Regions from separate parts of the Homo sapiens genome. Here regions 1, 3 and 4 are each linked to region 2. Evidence: promoter capture Hi-C in human tissues and cell types (Jung and others, 2019). All regions are on one chromosome and are shown on one strand. Each heading gives the region's core, a stretch centred on a gene start or on the middle of the fragment in contact. The rest is flanking DNA. Distances are from core to core; before and after follow the strand shown. Region 1 has its middle 60 kb from the start of SVIL-AS1. Region 2 holds the start of LYZL1 (lysozyme like 1). Region 3 has its middle 44 kb from the start of LYZL1. Region 4 has its middle 40 kb from the start of LYZL1.

Region 1 (2,700 bases), core at 16-2,515, 61 kb before region 2:
AGAAATACAATGTTACCAGTTCTCTTTTGTGTTATCTCCCAGGCACTAATCCTAAGTGGGGTAATCATTATCCTGTCTGTTTGTGTACTTTATAGAAATGGAATCATGCAGTGTATACCAGACTTTTAATGTCTGGTTTCTTTTCCTCCATAGTATGGCTGTCATATTCATCCATATTTTTGTGAGTACGTGATTCTTTCTCACTGTTGTACAGTATAGGTTGAACATCCCAAATCTGAAAATCTGAAGTCCAAAATGCTGCAAAATCTGAAACTTGTTGAGCACCCACATGATGCTGAAAGGAAATGCTCATTGGAGCATTTAGATTGAGATTGAGATTTCAGATTTTTGGATTTGGCATGTTCCACCAGTGAGTTTAATGCAACTATTCCAAGACCTGAAAAATTAAAAATCTGAAACATTTCTGGTCCCAAGCACTTGGATAAGGGATACTCAACCTGTATTCCATTGTGTGAATATCGCGTAATGTATTCATTCATGCTACCATTGCCGTGCACCTGGGTAATTTTCAGTTTTTAGCTCCAATGAACAGCACTCCTAAAAAAATTCAGGTAAGTGTTTATTAGTGAACACATTTCTGTTGGGCATGAAAACCCAGAGTGGAGTTGCTGAGTCGAAGGGTATGTATATGTTAGCTTTAGTAATAATTTCCAAACCATTTTCCTAAGGGTTTGTACCAATTAGCACTCTAATGAATAGTGTGGGAGTGTTCAAGTTGTTACATATTCTTGCCAATATTTGGCAATTTTAATTTAAATTTTAGCCATTTTGGTAGTGTGGAATTGCATCTCTATGATTTCAATGTGCATTTCCTTGATTACAAACAAAATTGAGCATTTTTAATATGTTTACTAGCCATTTGAATATTACTCTCATTTATGAAGTGGCATTTCAAGCATTTTGTCCATTTTCTACTGGGCTGACTTTTTTTTTAACTTCAATCAACAATGATTTTATTTGATCTTATTCATCAGTTCCTTTTTTTGTCTTCCAATTTTTATTTTAAGTTCAGGGGTACGTGTGCAGGTAAATGTGTGCCATGGTGGTTTACTACACAGATCATCCCATCATCCAGGTATTAAGCCCTGCATCAATTGGTTATTCTTCCTGATGCTCTCCCTTCCTGCCCCTACAGATGCCCAGTGTGTGTTTTTCCCCACCACAGGTCCATGTGTTCTCATCAATCAGCTCCTACTTATAAGTGAGATCATGCAGTGTTTGGTTTTCTGTTCCTGCATTAGTTTGCTGAGAATAATGGCTTCCGACTCCATCCATGTCCCTGCAACATGATCTCATTCCTTTTTTTGGCTGCATAGTATTCCATGATGTATATGTACCACATTTTCTTTATCCAGTCTATCACTGATAGGCATTTAGGTTGATTCCATGACTTTGCTATTGTAAATAGTGCTATATGTGTGCATGTATCTTTATACTAGAAGGATTGATTTATATTCCTTTGGGTATATACTGAGCTGACTTTTAGTAAATTGACTTGGCTAGGCATGGTGGCTCATGCCTGTTATTCCAGCACTTTGGGAGGCCAGGGCAGGGAGGATTGCTTGAGGCCAGGAGTTTGAGAACAGCCTGGGCAACATAGTGAGACCTCATTTTTATAAAAGCAATTAAAAATTAACTTGTTCATATATTTTGTGTATTTTTTTTCTGAGACAGAGTCTCACTCTGTTGCCCAGGCTGGAATGCAGTGGCATGATCTTGGCTCACTGCAAGCTCCACCTCCTGGGTTCAAGCGATTCTCCTGCCTCAGCCTCCTGAATAGCTGGGATTACAGGTGCCCACCACCACACCCAATTAATTTTTATACTTTTAGTAGAGATGGGGTTTCACCATGTTGGCCAGGCTGGTCTTAAACTCCTGCCTGGCTCTACTGCAGTGTAGACTTTGTCTTAAGCAGATCATCATGTGGCAAAGCGGTGATTCCACATGCACTCTGGCCTTCTTCTGAATGGCTGTCGGTGGAGCCTGAGACCTTGTGAAATCAATAATGTGGCCAAGGTCCAAGGCGAGGAAAGTGAAGGCTGCTGGCAAAGATGTCTTGGTGCAAACAGATGGGGTCTGAGCGTCCACCCTTCTCTTCCTGGGTTTGCATCCTGAAACTTCCTGTGGTGAGCTCCCCAGCTTTCGTATTATGGAAGTAGATTCCTCAGATATAAACAAGTCCTTGTCTGGAAAGAAGTCACTTAGTGGGCCTGAGAATGGAGCACAAGTAGACCCATCAGCACAGAGCCACTCTACAGACCAAGAACGACCTCGCAAGGCACCGCACGACCGGCACTTGGCTTCCTAGTAAAAGCAGGACCCTGCATGTTCCTCTACATCTTATACCATTTATGCTTAAGGGGTTATATTTTTTTTCTGGGGTCAGTTAAATCACTTTCTCTTCCCACTGTGGTAAACCCCAAAGAGCCTCCTGATAATTAATTTTTGTTTTATTGCTAGATTGCTCTGCTCTGCTAGAATGTAAATTCTATAAGAGCAGGGACCTTGTCTGTCATAGTCACTCAGTAACTATCACAGCTAGTGAAGAATGAATGAATGAATGAAAACTAGGCTAGCCTGATGAGTAGATAAGAAGGAAGCATTGCTATGAGGAAGAGCCACGGAACAAAGAAGGAATTGAAGGATGATATTGACGCTCTCACGGAAAATTTTCTGCTA
Region 2 (2,799 bases), core at 85-2,584:
GCAGAGGGGCAATAAAGAGACCCCTGCGGAATCATCTGAAATGGGAGTAGGATCAAGAGAGCTGTCTCCTGCTGCCTACTGATTTTCCACAATCTCTTCCCCTCTTGAAATAATGTCTTCCCCAAATACAACAGCCTTGCTGGGATGGGGTGAAGTGAAATTTCTGACAACTACTCGGGATCCTGAACTTGATGTTCTTACATATGTTCATCCCGTGTCATTTTCTGCACTTGCCTAGAAACTTCTCCAGTCATTAGTTTCTCTCCCTGGGGCTGGATTCCTGCATTGAAAGGCTAGGCCCAAAACAGGGATAAGTAGTCATCAGCAAGGCCACCGCACCAAGTAACAAGCAGGGCTTTAAGGTGACTAAGCAATAAGGTAAGGAACTGCATTGCATGAGGGGCATGTACATTACAAACGTGAATAGCAAGCGTGGGCAAACCAGGCCCGCTTTTGTATGTAAAGTTTTATTGAAACATAGCTACACCCATTTGGTAATATATCATTGGTGGCTGATTTCCAACTACAGTGGCAGAGTTCAGTAATTGTGTTTGAGGCCGTATAGACCACAAAGCCTAACATATTATTATCTGGCCCTTTTCAGAGAGAGCATGCCAGTCCGCTGTGTACAGCACTGTGTTAAGCTGTGAGGGACAGACAAACGAGGTTTAAGATGCAGAGCTAAGGCCAGGCATGGTGGGTGATACCTGTAATCCAAGCACTTTGGGAGGCTGAGGTGAGCAGATTGCTTGAAGCCAGGAGTTTGAGACTAGCCTGGGCAGCAAAGGTAGACCCTGCCTCTACAAAATATACAAAAATTAGCCAGGCATGGTGGTGTGTGCCTGTGGTCCCAGCTACTGGGGAGGCTGAGGTGGGAGGATCACTTGAGGCTGGGAGTTTGAGGCCATAGTGAGCCATGATTGTGACACTGCACTCCAGCCTGGGCAGCAGAGTGAGAGACCCTGTCTAAAAAAAAAAAAAAAAAAGAAAAGAAAAAAGAAAAAAAGATACAGAGCTTACAAATAGAGTTGGTTTCCATCCCCTGCCTTAGAATTTTACTGATCTCAAACAAGTCCAAAGAAAACCCGCAGCAATGATAACCCCAAGCATCATGTTCTACATCCTTCAAGAACCTGCCATTGCTGGTTCTCATAAGAGTAATTTAGGTCTTACTGAAAAGGCAGATTCCTGGTGCCTGCCCCAGAGGCTGACTTCTCAGTTGAGTCTGCGGAAGAAACACTGCTCCACTTAGTCGGTGACAGGCAGCTCAGGGGAGCGTCCTGCATCCCCTGAAGCCATGTCTGATTCTAACGAGGCGCGAGTAATCCTTTCCTAGCTCAAGAACATTTCTTTAGAGTGTTAGAGAAAGAAAAATTCTTAATCCTTTGTTTCTCACCACCTAGAGATGCTAGAATTCTACTTCTTGGCACTAAAAGCTGTATCATCCTGCATGCTTGTGTTCTGAGGCAGGTGATAACTGTCTTCTGGGGCTTAATACCTCTTGTTTTTTGTCTTTTCCCCTCAACAACCCTCCTCATTACACAACTTGGCCAGGGCCTCCTGTCCAAGTGAGAGCTCTTCTCTGAGGCGTCTGCAAACTTTATCACAAATTCCATTAATAAAGAAAGTTAAGCATGTATCCTCTTTAGATGTACATTGAGTTATAAATCATACTTCTGTACCTCAGTACTAATATGCTACATAAATTATCAACATACATAAAACTAAAATTTGAAAATTAATGACATAGAGGTGAAATTAACATTAAAAATTTATTAACAGCACATTTGCTATAGTCAAATTATTATTAATAAAATATTTTTGTAATAACATGATTTTATTATTTTTGAAAAATTTGGCTTAACACTTTGTGAATCAATAACTAAAGGGCTGTTTTCAAGGTCTATTTATTTCAATGTTCAGATTTAGTGACACATTTGAAATGAATTCTCATTAGAATATGTAGATCTAAGTAGAAGTTTATTGTTGGCTGCACCTAACTAATCGTTATATTTTCTTAAATTCCATCTGCCAATAATGCAAAGGTTTTGTTGAAATCTATTTTGAAGTTCATATAGTATTGCATTATACAGATACAACATAGCATACTTAGCCAATTTCATATTGATGCACACTTATTTTATTCTTCTATTGTAAACATATTACAACCAGTAATTTTGTACATATGTCATTTGTAACTTTACAAGAATATCTTGCTGGATCAAAGGGTATAATTTTGTAATTTTGCTAGATATTTGCCAAATTGCCTTTCACATGGGCTTGTATCAGGAAGATAGCACACTGTGTTATCAAATGTTTCAATATTTCTCAATATTAGAGATGAAACATAATTTTTCAGCAGAGTTTCAATTTCAACTTTCGTTATTTCAAGCTGCTTGAGGGTCTTTTTTATCTTTAGAAGCCATTAGTGGACTTCTTGTGAACAGTCTATAATATGAGAAAATGTATAGGTTTTTCCCTCAAACATCTTTTTCAAAATGCTTTGAAATAGGGATCTTACCAGTGAGAAAATAGAGACGGATTGTCTTTTTCTTTTTCAAAAATGCTTGCTTAGCAAGTTTTCAGATATGACGTAAATATACAAAAGCCATTTACAATCTTATATACTAGGAATAGAAAATAAGAGTTTGAAATAAAAAAAAATCCATTTACAATAGTACACAAATGCAAATGAAGTACTTAAATTTAAACCTAACAAAATATGTGCAGGATATATATACTGACAACTATAAGACAGACGGAAAATTAAAGAAGACCTGAGTAAATGAAAAAGACACA
Region 3 (2,782 bases), core at 18-2,517, 44 kb after region 2:
AGCCCTAGGGTGCTGGAAATGTTATACATATATAATATATACCACGCTCCAGCCTGGGCAACATAGCAAGACCCCATCTCTAAATTTATACACACATATATATAATAAATATATCTATATATTATATTATTTTAGATATTTATATTATAAATATTATAGTAATATATTTATAAATGTAAGTAAATATAAATATATTTATATTTAATTGTTCATGATGTATATGTTTATATATTTATATATGGTTATTTATATAATATATACTTATATTTATTATTATATATTTAGAGACAGGTTCTTGCTATGTTACCAAACTGTAGTGCCATGGTGTAATCATAGCTCACTGCAGCCTCAAATTCTTGGACTCAAGTAACCCTTCCATTTCAGCTTCCTGAGCAACTGGGACTAGAGACACATATCACCACACTTGACTAACTTTTTAAATTTTTTGTAGAGATGGGATCTTGCTGTGTTGCCCAGGCTTGTCTTGAACTCCTGGCCTTAACTGATCCTCCCACCTTAGCCTCTCAAAGTGCTGGAATCACAAATGTGAGGCACCATGTCTGGCTGGAATGTTTTATATTTTGATCTGGGTGACCTTCATATGTGTAGAAATTTATCAAACTCTACTTTTAAGATTTATTTTAAAGGTATGCATATATAAAATAATTTATTTATAAGTATATAAAATATATTTACTATTTCAATATACAATATTTTAAGTGTAACTATATTTTATACATTTATAAATACATAAGTAAATTTATTTATAAATATATAAAGATGCATATATAATGGTAAACACATAAAATAAATACATAAAATAACTCAAATTCTAAAATTTTTTGTAAAAACTACTACTATTTATTACGTGTTTACTGTGTAACAGGCAAAGTGCTAAGTGCATGAAGCTTTAAAAATATGAAGCAATTTGCCACAGGTGACAGATCCACAGATTCTGGACTCAAATCTAGTTCTCGCCTCTAAATCTCTGCACTCTGTGGTCCCTGCTCTCCCGCGTAAGGACGAAACTAATCCTTAGCCTTGCAGAGACTTGGCCCTGTCAGTCTTTGGGTCTTCCAAGCAGAGCAGGTGGGCCCGTGGGAGTCGCAGTGGCTTGGCTTAACGGGTCTGTTTGATAACAATAAACCTCTGTTGCCGTATTAACGGAGCTGTTAAAACATTTCCCTTGCTGTTGGTGATGTCAAAGGCCCTTGCCAAGTCTCTGGGACAGTGGCCCGATTGTTGAACGAAGGAACTTACTGGAAGAACAGTGAATGGTGTTTTCAATAAGGGCATGGAGGTAAGAACAGAAAATGCATTATTTGTGGAATTTCTTCATATTTGAAGTTCATTCTGGCCGGATGCCCTTTTGGGGAAAGAAAACCCAAAATGAGGCTTCAGAACACATTTCCCTCCATCTACTGTTCTCTCCACTAAATTAAATTATTTTAGTTCAATTTGTTAGAGGCATGAGGTTTAAAATGCAAACCTGATGAGTTATTAACATTTATTAAATGGACATGTACCATCTTAATATTTATTAATGAGGGGTTCCACACAGTCTTATAAACGAGAGCTGAGAAAAACACATGCCTGGATCACAGTGTGTCATCCTCATCCCTTCCTCTCCTCTCTCTGCTCCTGTCCAGTGTGTGCTGACGCTCTCCATGTCTCCATCGCCCGCCATCTTGTGTGCTGGGAAATCTCTACCATTGCTGTTCTCAGGAAATTCTGAGGAGATTCCAACCTGGTTCATCACGAAATAGCACCACCAACATCTCGCTTATGAATCCGTTTAGTTAAGCAGACCCTGCAGAAATCCCCTTTCCTTCCTTTCAAGTCCTGAAATCTGCCTCCATATCCAATAGACAAGACGTAGAAATAAAGTGCTCACCCATTTACCAATGGTATCTCAGGCACATCATCTAGCTTCTATGAGGTTCTGAAGTTCACTGATTACAAACAAAATAGGTACAATACTTATCTCAGAGGACATTATGAGAGTTTTACTAGAAAGCGACTTTGCCTAGTGGAGTGCCTTGCACCCATGGAGGAAAATCACTAAATAATGCTTATGATGATGGCTAATTTAATAGAGGTAGCTGAAAGCCTGACTCTTTTTTTTCCCCCCCAGGGGGAAAAATGTGAATAACAGCTTCAATGACAAGCACCTACTTACTAACATTATTTTCTTTACTGGTATGAATTAGTCCTGCAAAGGGCTAGGCTTCAAGTTCTGCCATATTTCAAAATCTGTTAAACGTAGGATTTTTAAATGAGTCTTGATTGGAAATAGGGAAACTTTAATAGAGGTGAACAAAATACTACTTTTCTGACCTCTGAATTGGTTCATGTTGATCATAGATTCAAATCTTTTTGGACAGAAATTCTGTGATACAAACAGGTATAGTAAAGCCTAGTTGGGTTTCTAGCACGCAAGGCAGATAGGAACACTAGGGCGGTAGAGGGAAACTCCTTCCTCCCTCCCAGCCCAGGCAGGCAGCATTTCCACCACCAGTCTTCTTCGTTACACTGGGGAGTTCTCAGACTTTTTCTCCCTCCAGCCTCCAGGCAGCCCCAATGTGTCCACCAGCCTGGCCTCAGAGATGAGCACTTATTTTTGTCTCTGTTCTAGGTCACTGTACTATTTTTTTTTAGTTGATATAGAATAACTTTAAAAATCGAAATAGACCCAGCTTTGTTAAATTTGCACCCCAATGAAGCATCTTAGAACATGGTCTGACCATAATTTGGAACCATGCGCAGAATCACTCTTCTCTGC
Region 4 (2,820 bases), core at 274-2,773, 40 kb before region 2:
ATGAAATGTATGTTGAGTATTTATTGAACATCAGAAACTATGTTCATTTGTTCATATTCACATTTGTTTCTTTAATCCTAAGAATAATGCCATGAGTTAAGTATCTTACTTTACAGAGGAGTCAACTGCAGAGATTAAACTAATTTCCATCACACAGTTAGCAAGTGAATGAATCTAGAACTTGAAACCAAGTCTCTGATTCCGAAGTTCAGTGTTCATTCCATTAACCCATGGTGCTAACAGAGAGGAAGATATGGGACTTTCTTTTCACTTCATTGAATTATTTTATGTAAGGATGTGTGTATGTAGTGTTTGAGTGTTTGATAATTGACAAAACCTGGATGCTACAATAATAAGAGGGGAAGGAAGAGGGAGAAAGAGAAAGAAGAATATGGTGGAAAATACAGACAGGCATAGATACACACGCGCACTCCATGTTCCTTTGACCTCAGCCAGCCGGTGGGTGGAGGCATTGCAAAGAAGTGGGTCTTTTGAAAGACATTGACATTAGAAAGGTTGTCAACAAACCTTCTGACAGCTGTTTGCTAATTATTACTTCTAGGGGAAAAGTGTGAATGTAAGTTGTGTCTGAATGTTTTGTTGGAAAAAAATCTGGAATGCATAGTTCCATTCTCCTCTATAATCATAAATGGATTTTCTTGCAATTGTATTTTCTCTTGCTAATGAATAGTAAACAACACTGATTATAGGAGTTATCTAATTCTTGGTGCCCCCCTTGCTGTGGCCTCCCATCACTGCCAAATCCCCTTCTCTCTCTTCACACACACACACACACACACACACGCACACACACACACACACAGAGAGAGAGAGAGATCAACACATAAATCAGCAAGCCATGTTGACCCTTACGCAATGCCATGTGCTGTGAAAAGCACCGGGAATACAGTTCATACAATTAAGGGCCAATTATGTGCTTATTGGCTCTTGACCTAAGAGGAGACACAACGTCTTCAGGGCAGGAATTGTGTTAATGCTCTGTTGTTCTCAGGGGCCTCATAGAGAGCTCTGTTTCACTTGGGGAGAATTTAGAAAGCAGAGCGCCCTTAATATCTATTTCAAATAGAAGTAAATGCACTGAGTATAAAATTAACTTTCTCTCAAGTGGTGGTTACACAGCTAGGCAAGATTGGTTCAGAATAATGAGAGCCAATTGGCTTTGCAAAAATGGGAGGAGGTGGGGGAGACCAAAATGTGGGTGATGTTTGGGGCAGTAGATGGAAGGTGCTGCTGAGCTGCTGCAGAGATGACCTGGGGTAAGCAGTAGACCACGAGCATGCAGCTCACTCAGGAATGTGGGAAGTCATCCCAGGCATCTTCTCTGTTCTCATTTGGAAAGCACGCCAGGGCAATGGCAGTTGCCAGAGTTTTAGGTCATGACTGCTTCCATAAGAAATATTATGATTATCCATATTCCAAATTATCCTTCAGTACGAATGGTAGACATCAAACAAACCACCTCATTTTAAGGTGGAGTCACATAAGTTTCACAGCTGCTAACCAACTGTTTGAAGACTTTCAGGGATGGTTCCCTCTTTTTTTTTTTTTTTTTTGAAAAGAAGTCTCACTCTGTCACCCAGGCTGGAGGACAATGGCGCGATCTTGGCTCACTGCAACCTCTGCCTCCTAGGTTTAAGTGATTCTCCTGCCTCAGGCTCCTGAGTAAGTAGGATTAAAGGCATCTGCCATCATGCCTGGCTATTTTTTGTATTTTTGTAGAGACGGGGTTTCACCATGTTGATCAGGCTGGTCTTGAACTCCTGACCTCAGGTGATCTGCCTGCTTCGGCCTCCCAAAGTGCTGTGATCACAGGCGTGAGCCACTGTTCCCAGCTGTCTTTTTTAAAATATATTTTTTTTAAATAGAGAAGGAGATCTTGCTATGTTACCCAGTCTGGTCTTGAACTCTTGGCTTCAAGCAATCCTCCTGCTTCAACCTCCCAAAGTGTTGTGATTATAGATATGAGCCACTGACCCCCACCAGGGATGGTCCTCTCTTGATACTACCTCAGATCTTTGAGCTGAAGAATAAGAAAAGGAAGAGTGTGAGGAGGCGTGAAGAAGTGGATAGATGCTGGGCATCTTATCTCATCCCTGAGGTCCAGGGAAAAACAGGCTTCAAAGTCAAAAGGATACATGGATGCAAGTTCTGGTTCTGCCCTTTACCACCTGCAAGGTCTTTCCAAGCTTCCTGAATGTCTACAGCCTTAGACTCCTCCTATGTAGGGTGAGTTGTCTGAGAAATAAAGGTAATGTATGAAAGATTCCTGGTATAGTGAGTTCTTAGTTATATGTAGCTACTATTATTATTTTATAAATGTTTCAAACATTGATGTTGGTGGTCACTATAGCAATATCTCACCGCCTTAGGACTCTCAGAAGTTCCTGTAGCTCAGATGTCCCAACCCCCAATTACAGAAATGCTGGCATGGAGCAGGTCATTGGATAAAGACCTCAGTTTCTCCAGTTGCCTCTCCATAAGGGGAGGGCTGAGTATATACGTGGCCAATAAACGGCAACATCTATTACTAACCCAAAGAAGCAAACGATTCACATGACTGCATTGGAATGGAGGTTACAGAACTGAAATAGGAGAAAGCACAAGCAAATTTCTTATGCCCTCAGATTCAGCACGGAATATGCTGTCTCAACCCGCTTGTCCGTGGACAGCCTTGACTGTCTCCTGGGGAAGAATATGAAGAAGCTTTCCTTTAGAAGATGCCATCAGGGAAGACTGGACTAAATCAACAGTTGGAGAAATAATGATGTGTAAATCAGAGTGAGGCCATTTCACTGTGAG

The links. Contacts are between HindIII fragments. The study calls those that stand out against the background at their distance.
Region 1: a fragment that was not itself captured here is called in contact with the fragment with the promoter of LYZL1 in region 2 in 3 of the 25 tissues and cell types used here (mesenchymal stem cells, ovary and thymus).
Region 3: a fragment that was not itself captured here is called in contact with the fragment with the promoter of LYZL1 in region 2 in 1 of the 25 tissues and cell types used here (thymus).
Region 4: a fragment that was not itself captured here is called in contact with the fragment with the promoter of LYZL1 in region 2 in 4 of the 25 tissues and cell types used here (mesenchymal stem cells, mesendoderm cells, spleen and 1 more).

What each region holds. Positions count from the first base shown.
Region 1 is chr10:29,348,325-29,351,024 of GRCh38, reverse strand. No RefSeq gene overlaps it. Among named protein-coding and RNA genes, the nearest start is that of SVIL-AS1, 60 kb to the left of the region's middle. The HindIII fragment of the contact is 9,519 bases long and covers 1-2,700 here.
Region 2 is chr10:29,287,605-29,290,403 of GRCh38, reverse strand. It overlaps LYZL1 (lysozyme like 1), which reads right to left and starts at 1,334. Exons shown (of 5, transcript NM_032517.6): 1 at 1,174-1,334. The HindIII fragment of the contact is 13,518 bases long and covers 1-2,799 here.
Region 3 is chr10:29,244,053-29,246,834 of GRCh38, reverse strand. No RefSeq gene overlaps it. Among named protein-coding and RNA genes, the nearest start is that of LYZL1, 44 kb to the left of the region's middle. The HindIII fragment of the contact is 3,022 bases long and covers 1-2,778 here.
Region 4 is chr10:29,327,675-29,330,494 of GRCh38, reverse strand. No RefSeq gene overlaps it. Among named protein-coding and RNA genes, the nearest start is that of LYZL1, 40 kb to the right of the region's middle. The HindIII fragment of the contact is 5,763 bases long and covers 1-2,820 here.